Regions from separate parts of the Homo sapiens genome. Here all the other regions are linked to region 2. Evidence: promoter capture Hi-C in 16 types of primary human blood cells and fetal thymus (Javierre and others, 2016). All regions are on one chromosome and are shown on one strand. Each heading gives the region's core, a stretch centred on a gene start or on the middle of the fragment in contact. The rest is flanking DNA. Distances are from core to core; before and after follow the strand shown. Region 1 holds the start of RPS3A (ribosomal protein S3A). Region 2 holds the start of USP38 (ubiquitin specific peptidase 38). Region 3 holds the start of NR3C2 (nuclear receptor subfamily 3 group C member 2).

Region 1 (3,421 bases), core at 660-3,159, 7.9 Mb before region 2:
ATTATGCTCTACTGCCACAGTTAATCAACATTCACTCAATTCTGAGGTCAAAAAACATCCTTAAGACAGGCAAAACCGCCCACCTGCACCTAAACGTTCCTCAAAAAACCACTAATCTATGCAGCAAGAAAATCTGACTTTGATGATACACCACTATTAAATCTTAGATTTAAATAGTAAGTAAAATATGGTGTGGCAACCCCAGAGTTAGCACTCAACAACGGCAAGAAAACAAAAATTTAAAATGAACTTTGTGGACATTTCACTGGTCTCAATAAATAAATAAAATGAACTTGCTCCTTCCAGTCATCAAACCATGCTATCCTTGGTCAAACACCCATAGCACAACCACTCTAAGGAACTTTGGGTCTCACCTGCCATTTTTTGACCATGGAACACATTTTGTCACGGGTAAGATCCATGCCATGGAAGTTAGTCAGGCAGTTTTTACCCTGAACATCTTCAGTAATCAGCTTGAATTTTCTAAATGCAACTTCATCATTCTGCAAATCAGCAAGACTCACTTCAAACACACGACCCTTGAGACCATCAGATGCAATTTCTACAAAAGAAAAAAACAAGTATCTTAACATTTAGGAACCATATAAGCAAAGTCAAGCCTGTAAACTGAGGGTAGAAATTAAGTTAATGGTAAATTATAAAGACCTTAACCTTTGTTATCAAATCTATCCAGACACCAGTGACTTATCAACAGTACTTATTTGAAGCTCAGAACTACCCATGGCACATTTTCTTAATTCAAAAAGCACCATCTTGCTTCTCTCCAAGTGCTGTACTAAAAATGATCACCACAGGTGCCAAGGCTGCAACCAAGAGCTGACATTTCCTTAAAGTCTCCCACCACAGGACCAACAACAGACCAAGATGCCTGCTACAATATACAAGCGCCAACTTAAGGAAAATACAAACCAAGAATAAGCTACTTACTGGTTCCTTGGGTCCTGGTGACGAGCGTCTTTCCAATATTTCTTATATTGAACATAGCAGGTGCTTTCACATCATACCAATCTTTCTTAGAAAATGGATCAACCCTGGATTTTAAGAAGATGCTTAAGTTCCATTGCAGATCAATTCTTACTGTATTTTTCACTGTTAATGGTATTTCCCATTAATATTTTAAAAAGCTAACCGGCAATTTGATACCAAAGTATATCTCACAGTGAGGTGAGGGGAACAAACATAAATCTAGCTCTTCCCACTGTACGTTTCACTGCATGCATCAGACTTTGAAAGGTTATGTCCACTTCCCACCCTCATCGGTCCATCCACTACACAGGCACTTAGAATAACATGCATCGGTCCTTCCACTACACAGGCACGAGTAACATGCAATCTCATTAACTTTGCTGGCACGTAATGGCATGTACTGGTAACTAAGAGACTGCATGGCCCCAAAGCTTAGCAGGAGCTCGCAGATTCCAGCGGGACCAAGCAAAGGCGAGATTGACGGGTCCTGAATGGATAGAAGGGTGCTTTCCTCAACTCCTGCTGTCGCAGTGCCATCAAACACTCGCAGAATTGAGGCAGCTCGTGAGCCCACAAAACTAACATTCCAGCCGAGTCGCGCCGGCAAGCCGGCTCAAACGCGACGCGCGCAAGGACCAGAAGGCCTGGGAAAGGCAGCCGACCTGCCGCTACTCAACACCGACCCTCCAGGCCGCGTTCCTGGGTGCACCAACCCGCCACGGCCCGCACAATCCGACTGGAATCCTCGCCATCCGGCCTACGCCGCGATCTAGGACCAGCCCGCCGATTCCAGCAGACCCCCAAAAAGCAAGACGCCACGACAGTCGCGACTTACACTTTCTTCTTGGCTCCCTTTTTGCCGCCTTTCGTAAGGCGCTTGTTCTTGCCAACCGCCATGGTGCTGGTCAGAGAGCCAAAAGGGCGGAAGTGGGAGTCGCGCGAGAACTTAGGCGTACGGGGGCGGGGCGCGCCGTCTACGTGACCTTTGCCCTGTTATTCTTCCGGCCTCAAGAATTCCGGGACAGTAGAGAGCGCCACTCTTTCTACTGTGGTTGCGACATCGCCATCGTGTGTGGGGAGGCCGCGCGGCATGCCGCGGGCTCACTGGAGGCTGCGCTGTGTAGACCAAGGCGTCGGTGGCCTGACGTGCAGGCGTCTGGTTACCTGTGGTTTCTGTGGCTGTGACGTCGGGAAGTAAGTTTCTGTAAAACGAGACGCCCACTCAACATCGTTCAAAGCTGAACTCACCGTCTAACCCCCAAACCTGCTTTTTGAGAGCATTGGCTTTGGAGTCAGTCAGCGGATCTGATTCAAATGCCGGTTTCAACAGGGCTTTGCTTGAGACCGACCTCTCCACGCTTGTTTCCTCATGCGTAATATGGGGGTGATAAAACGGTCGGCTTCATGAGGTTTCATAGGGCTAAATGAGCATCACTCCAGAGATGCTAGCGACGTTCTGCTTGTTGATGTGGATGCTGGTTCATCTCAGGTGTTGTTGCTTTGTGAACATTCACTAAGCTCTACGCTTATTTGTGTCCTTTTCTATATGTCTGTTATATATTGATTAAAAGGTTTTTTTAAAATAGAGTGAGACCGAACTCGTTGGCTCACACCTGTAATCCCAGCACTTTAAGAGGCTGAGGCAGGGGAATCAACTGAAGCCAGGAATTGGAGACTAGCCTGGGCCACACAGCCAGACCCCGTCTTTACAAGAAAATGATAAAATTAGCAGGGCGTTGGCCGGGCGCGGTGGCTCACGCCTGTAATCCCAGCACTTTGGGAGGCTGAGGCGGGCGGATCGCCTGAGCTCAGGAGTTCGAGACCAGCCTGGCCAACATAGTGAAACCCCGTCTCTACTAAACATACAAAAAATTAGCCGGGTGGGTGCCTGTAATCCCAGCTACTCGGGAGGCTGAGGCACGAGAATCTGAGCTCAGGAGGCGGAAGTTGCAGTGAGCCGAGATCGCGCCATTGCCTGGCCAACAAGAGTGAAACTGCGTCAAAAAAAAAAAAGTGAGATCTCCAAATGTTTCCATTTTTGCAACTAATCCAAACCCGCCTCCCCCATTTTTTTTAACTGTAGGGGTTAACAGAGCACATCCTGGCAAGGTGTGGCTGGCTAGCTCAAGTGTGCAGCCCTCGGAAAGCATCTGGCCCATACAGGCTTGGTACTCAGCCAGTGGTGTGTTGAGTTCCCTTCTCTAACTTCCCCTCTGGCAGAAAACCCTGTGACCAAGCCAAAACCAACCCTTACTTACAAGGCCCCCTGCAAGCTTTTAAACTTACAATCCCTTCCAGTCCTGCTAGCCTCCATCCCCTACCTCCCACTACACCCACCCCCCAAGACAACCTTCCTAAACCTCTAGTAGGGTCCTGAAATCTTTCAGTAATTCCATAAATCTCAGTTGCCTGGAGGATAAATTCAAAGTCTTAG
Region 2 (3,159 bases), core at 442-2,941:
TCTGGGATAATCCAGTAATAAAACAAACTGCACAATCCATTAATTCAAAAATGAGGAAATACAAAAATGGGGGAAAAACTCATTACAAAATTAGAGACACGTACAATAAATACTATGGTAAACATCATGCTACCATTAGTCACTAATGAATGGAAGCTTTCTGCAGTAGCTGTCATCCTCAAAGCATTCCAAATAACTTGAGCAGAGGCTGGGTAATTAAGCAACTTGTTTAGTGCCAAAGGTCTTAGACCTGGACGTTCTCAACCTTTAAAATGGGAACGCTGCCTGTTTTTAAAGTACGATGTGACGTCCTGAATAAGGTAGTGAATGTGAATAAATTTGGGATGAGGTATTAGGATTTGCTCTCGCTTAAGAATGTTTTTAGGGCAGGAGGAAAACATGGTGTGAATGTGTGTGTGCAAGAGAGACATATACTGATTTTTTATGAGATATTCTGAAAGATAATGACCCTTACCTGTGGAAGAGATGCTTGCAAAAACTTCTTGCAGGGAAGGCAGTAGTGTGGCAGGCTCGGCCTTCCAGATGTTCTGCAGCAAGTTACTCACTTTTGTCACCTGGGAGACATATTCCCGCAGCTCTCTTTCCTGGGTGGACACGCACTGGAAATGGCCTATCGTTCGAACCAGCTGTTGACAGAACGTGATGGACAATTTCCCCTTGGGGATGCATTGCACAAAGTCGGTCAGAAGGTCGCTCAGTCGGGCACAGAGCTGCGGCTCCGGCCTCTCACACACCATCCGTAACACCTCTACCTGCAGGAGGCTAAAGAGATCCAGCACCGACGGACAGCTCATAATCAGCTTCAGGCCGTTGTGAATGTAGTCCAGGATGGCTACATCCTTCCTGTCCAGAGAGTGGTAGCCCTGATGAAGGAGGCCCAACACGAAGGTCTTGTTGAAGAAGGACTCGAACTCTGGCCGGTGGTATCGTGCGTAGGCCTCCAGCACCTGGTGCCCCACCTGCCGCTGGAAAGGGTCCTGGCCCTCCAGGATGAGCCGGGTCGTCAGGTCAAACATGGCCTCGCACTGCGCCTCGTCTAGCCAGTGCTCCGCCGATTCCACCACCTTCCGCACAATCACCCGCTTGAGGGGCAGGGGATGCGAGGAACTCACAAGGCCCTCCAGGATCTTGTCCATTGTCGCCACGCTGCAAGGCCAGGGCCAGGGGATAAGGAGCGGGTGGCGGCAGCCCCGAGGTGGGGCAGGAGAGCCCCGGGGCGGAGATGAACTTGGAGCGCCGCAGCAGCAGCGCGACGGGCCACGGCCACCGCCGCCTCAGCAGCCACATTTATGGCGCAGGGAGACCCATCCAAGCCGGGGCGGGAGCTAGCGAGCCTGGAGAGCCTAAGAACCGACACCTGCGGCTGGCCTAAGGCGCCAGAGGCCCGTACTCCGCCGCCGCCCCGGGCCCTCGATCCCACTCAGCATCAGCGCCGAGGGGCCTGTCGGGCCCCCCAGCGGCGTCGGCGGGAGCTCAGGGCCCGGGGCTGCTAGCCGGCGGGTGGAGGAAGCACGCCTCCGAGTTCCGGGTCAGGTGTGGGCGTCCAGTCTCCAGCAGGTCGTGAGAAGAAGCCGGTCCTGGGCTGAGTCAGGAGGCGCTGTCACGGAGAGTGCTGGGATCAGCCGGGGAGAAGAGACCGAAGCGACACCCTTTGACCCGGATTTTGAAGTGCCGGCAAACAGGAAGTGAAGGACCTAAGAACCTCCGGAAGGACCGCCCCTCCGCCCCTCTGCCCCTCCGCCCCTCCGCCTGTCCGCCTCTCTCCTTCTCCCTTGTTCCCTCTCTCCCTCCCTGCTCCCCCACCTCCCTCCCGAGTCGTAGACTCCCTTCCCCCCGGCGCTGGGAGTCTCCTTCCCGCCCCGCCGCGCAGGTGCGGCGACGGCCGCGTCACTGGAGAGTGTGTCGAGTCACAGGCGGTCTTCCGCGCGGAGCGTCCCCGGCGGACGCTGCGCAGATGGCTGCGACTGTAGGATTCTTGCCGGCTAGTCTTCGTCGGTTCCGCCTGCGTCAGGTTACTCGTGAAAACTCGAATAAGTGCTATCGATGTGAAATCCGAGGAAAAGAGCATTTGGGGGAAAAGTAAGGAAAACTCAAAACTCGGATTGAGAAGTCTGCCTTGGCTCATTAATCAAGAATTGCGCTTGCGCGCCTAAATGTGACTGCCTTTATCCTGCGATGTCGGTATTGAAGTAAGAGCAATACTGGCGGCGTACCTAGCATTTAGCGACCATCAGTATCAGTAGCAGGCCTCTAGCAAAGAACCAGTTAGTGAGCTTTGTACCATATCGAAAATTATAAGCCGTCCAAAAAAGTGTGAGAGTAAGGAAAATGGCAGATTAGAATCAAAATATTTTTATACCTGTGTCATACAAGGGTACTTTGAAAATAGAAAACCAGGTGGAAATACCACAAAACTTATTGTATATGTTGACACCGAAGATGGTTTACAATAGGGAAGAACAGGTGCAATCATGCTTGTTCTGTTTCATGCCAAATTCCGAAGATTCACAGTAAGAATTTAATCAGAGGTCTTTATATTGGAAAATATTGCCTAACTGTAGCCTGCTTCAGGCTTGGTTAATATAGTTGTGAAACTAGACATTAAGGCCCTGTAATACAGACAAAACTTTAAAGAAATAGGTCATTTAAAATGTCCCGTAGAAAAATGAACAAAATTCTGTTACTTCAGTTTGCTAAATAGTGTTTTGTTTTTTTACCAAGTTACAAACACGATTACACTAATATATTCACACGTCGATTATGGTAGTCTTAAGAAGAGCAGTTTAGAGGAGACAGGAGCTTGAGTAAAAGGGAACTTAAGACCAAGTTGACTCGTAGGAAGATACGGAAGATAAAAGAGAATTGAGGTAATTAATCTATCAGTCATGCTAGAGACAGGAATGATTTTTCCAATAGGAGGTGAAGGTACACAGATGTTTGTCTTTACTGGGAATAATGCCACAGTGGAAGACAAAGGTAATATAGAAAATAAAATATTAAGAAGGAATTAAGTATTAAGAAGGATCGTGGATTTGAGGTGGAGTGGAGGAAATTTGGAATTAATCTTTGTGCTAAGAAACTAACAGGACGAATGAAGATTGCTGAATAGTACCAGCGAAGTGATTATTCCAAAGTAGA
Region 3 (3,311 bases), core at 270-2,769, 5.3 Mb before region 2:
AGGTGGAGAGCGTGAGGGGACGACACTTTGCTCGCGGAAAAACCGACTTCTTCCGCGTCAGCACACTTTTCACATCTCTCCAGATATCCTGGGGTCGGTCAGAAGGAGAGCAGGGTGGACGTAAGCAAGTTTGGGGCGGCCGAGCGATGGGGGTGGGGGCAGCGTGCGGAGGCCGCCTGATGTAGCCACCGCCCGGCACCCCAAGCTCCCGCCGCGGCTGCGGCTTTAAGGAAGCTGCCGAGTCCAGGCTGTGTCGCAGCAACTTTGTATCAGTCATGTCGCCCGCCTGGTGACTGACAGCCTGGATTGTCCAATAAGAAGCCCGCCTGACCCGTGCGGCGTGGAGCCTTGCTTCTCTTCGGGCCAATAGGAAGGGTTCAGGGGGGCGGGATAGCAACCTGAACTTTATCTGGACATGTGACCCGCTTTTAAAAGGGCCAGCCCTCCAGCTGGCCCACTCCCCCTCCGGGCTTTCGCCCGCCCTCTCTCCCTCCCTTTTTTGCCCGCCCTGGCCCTGCCCCTGCCCCTGCCCCCTCCTCTCAGCCCCTCCGCGCCCGGGGTGTCATTGGGCCCGGGAGACGGGAGCCAACTTCAGGCTGCTCAGAGGAAGCCCGTGCAGTCAGTCACCTGGGTGCAAGAGCGTTGCTGCCTCGGGCTCTCCCGCTGCAGGGAGAGCGGCACTCGCTGGCCTGGATGTGGTTGGATTTAGGGGGGCTCCGCAGCAGGGGTTTCGTGGCGGTGGCAAGCGCTGCAACAGGTAGACGGCGAGAGACGGACCCCGGCCGAGGCAGGTGTGTAGGGGCGCGCGGCGGGGCACCGCTTGCCGTGCTCGGCGTGCGGCCGCGGCGCGGGAGCGTGCACTTTGCAGGGAGAAGTGGCTGCGTAATCCGGAGGCACAGTCAGTATGGTGCTGTGTGCTTGTTGTTTTGTTTTGGTTTTCCACTTTTCTCCCCCTTTGGCCGCCAGAGGACTATTTTGGGAAAGTTTGGCCACTTTGGATAAATGCCCTCTAACTAGCAGCTTTTAACTGCCTTTGGCAGTGGGAGGTCTACCACCCTTCCCTTTACCCAAAGATGAATTTCGGATCATTTTCCCTGTACAATTTTTAAAGGACGTTTGAATAATATTTCTTTCCTTTATCAATTGCGGACGCTCCCAAATCTCAGCCGGAGGTGTAGCGCATAAGGGCAGTTGAAGGAGATATAGATCCTAATAGATCCTGTATAAAAGGGGCTCTGGAAATTCGTGCATTTCCCGTTCGCTAGCATTCGCGAAACTCTTGAGACAGGCTACGCTTCCTATGGCATCAGTTGGAATTTTAAGGGCAAGGGAGAAGGGGACGAAGCTTCTTTTGGTGGCATCCTTACTCTGCTACTGAATTTTAGGTGCGTGGCTTTGCCTACTCAATTTAAAAAGACCAGGTTTAAATAATAATGGTTTATGGCACCATCAGTTTTAATTATTTATTATGACATAGGAGTTAGGAAAACTTTTGATAGCAGACGAGCTTTTGAAACCGCCGAATTTTAAAGGCACCAAATTGCTTCCTAACATTTTGTATTGCCATTTCTCTAGGTGCTGTTATTGATGATATTTACATAGTAATGATAACAGCATTCTCCATCTGTGAAGTCCTGCTGTGAAGTTTAAATTTTATGTTTGACATCGTGGCAGCTATCATGGAAAAGCTTGAGAGGAGAAGTTTTAAAAAATAATTTAAAGTGGAGCTTTTTCCTTTAAGGGAGGCATAGTTTTGTTTGGCGATTTTTGGAAAGATCAGGTGGCTCGGTAAATTAGGTGAGTGAATAGAAATCAGGTGTGCTCAGTTCTAACTGGTTCTCCCGCTCTCTCAGGTGACCTTGGGCAGATTTCTATCATTTACCTCATCTATAAAAGAGAGGAACATAATAGTTATGTAGTGGGGAATGACAAAAAATAGTTACATATAGTGAACTTTTACAACTATGCAGTCTATAGATGATTGTGAGATTCTTAAGCTTTAGTCTTTAAAGTGCCATCTTATAGTCAAATAAATATAAAAAAGATGCCTTTTCTATCATTTCCATCATGATGAGATTGGGTTTTGGGGGTTACTAAAAGTGAAAGTGTTTCCAGATAAAATACAAATTCGCAAGGATCTTTGTTAATATTCCCGAAAAAAGTACTTCTTTATGGAAAAGGGCAATTTAACACAGACTGTAAAACGTAAAACTTTAAGGTTTTCCTTTGTGAAAACAGCATTTCTTTTGTGTTTGAGAGCATATGTATGGCTTAAAGTAGCACCTCCACCAGTGCTTTTCCTTTAGTGAATTTTTTTTTGTGTTTTGGGGCGAGGCCCATTTGCATGAAAATTAAAAGTTCATAATGTTTTTTGCATTTGTCCTAAGAGAATCTTTGGTATGGTTTCCATTGTGAGGCAGGCAAGCCTGATTTTTGTTAGTTAGATTTGTATACCTCTATCTGCTTCATTTTATACTTTAGTAACATAAACTTTTTCTTTATCCTCTAGATATTAAGTTCTATGAGGATCATATTCATCGACTAGTATTTTCAGTATTCACTAGTTAGTACAGGTTGACTGAAATTCTGCTCAAGCCATGGTCATTGTGCCAGTTGCAAAAAGATAACCTCTGCTTCCTGGATGACATAGTAAATAAATTCCTAACTGGACCCATTTGTTTACAGAAAAGACTAATTAAAATACTAGGGAGACTCAAAATATTTCAATAATGCTATTTGAAAAATATCTGATCTTAAAAAAATGTTTGTGTAGAAGCCGTGCAGATGCTAGATGTCTTGTATTCTTTTGTGTTTGACTATTGCCAATCTGTATTGTTTCCTTTGTTGAGAGGTGCATTAGGTTGGTAGATGAGAATACCTTAAACAAAGTAATTTAGATTTCAGCAAAGCCTTTTGCAAATTCCTTAATGAGACTCCTGTCAATAATGTGGTGAAACACAGCCTATTTTATGTTATTAAGGGAGTTCAAGGTTAGCCAAACAGGACTTGGAAAGTTGTGATCAGCTGTATGATGTTAGCTGGTAAGGTGCTACCTTGTCCAGGGCTTTAAGACTGTCTTTGGTACCCATCATCTCCAGTATAGATTCTCTTCAGGTCTTCCGTAGCCTCACAAATGTGGGATATGGTTCTTGCTTTAGGGCAGAGTGCCGAAAAGTGCAGAATCTTAGTAGATGTTCTTTGAGAAAAAGGTGGAGTGGTCAAATTATTTGAGGAATGCTGGATTAAAAAGTAAACAGAATCTCCCAGAGGTTTTGATATGCAAATTTATATAGGGAAATTTCAAAAAAGCC

What was found. The method cuts DNA at HindIII sites, captures the fragments that hold promoters and counts their contacts. A CHiCAGO score of 5 or more calls a contact.
Region 1: the fragment with the promoter of RPS3A here is called in contact with the fragment with the promoter of USP38 in region 2 in 1 of 17 cell types (non-activated CD4 T cells); the score reaches 7.8 in non-activated CD4 T cells.
Region 3: a contact is called between a fragment that was not itself captured here and the fragment with the promoter of USP38 in region 2, in 1 of 17 cell types (non-activated CD4 T cells). The highest score is 5.5, in non-activated CD4 T cells.

The regions. Positions count from the first base shown.
Region 1 is chr4:151,098,116-151,101,536 of GRCh38, reverse strand. RPS3A (ribosomal protein S3A) reads right to left here and starts at 1,909. Exons shown (of 6, transcript NM_001006.5): 1 at 1,823-1,909; 2 at 949-1,052; 3 at 375-562. The coding sequence starts at 1,884. RefSeq lists enhancers at 986-1,569, 1,590-2,149, 1,570-2,154, 1,453-2,652, 2,930-2,999. The HindIII fragment of the contact is 1,842 bases long and covers 1,421-3,262 here.
Region 2 is chr4:143,183,449-143,186,607 of GRCh38, reverse strand. USP38 (ubiquitin specific peptidase 38) reads right to left here and starts at 1,691. Exons shown (of 10, transcript NM_032557.6): 1 at 476-1,691. The coding sequence starts at 1,157. USP38-DT (USP38 divergent transcript) reads left to right here and starts at 1,747. Exons shown (of 4, transcript NR_185979.1): 1 at 1,747-2,100. RefSeq lists silencers at 1,300-1,549, 1,770-1,819 and enhancers at 871-1,755, 1,756-2,641. The HindIII fragment of the contact is 4,447 bases long and covers 159-3,159 here.
Region 3 is chr4:148,439,640-148,442,950 of GRCh38, reverse strand. NR3C2 (nuclear receptor subfamily 3 group C member 2) reads left to right here and starts at 537. Exons shown (of 9, transcript NM_000901.5): 1 at 537-791. RefSeq lists a silencer at 340-629. The HindIII fragment of the contact is 343 bases long and covers 1,348-1,690 here.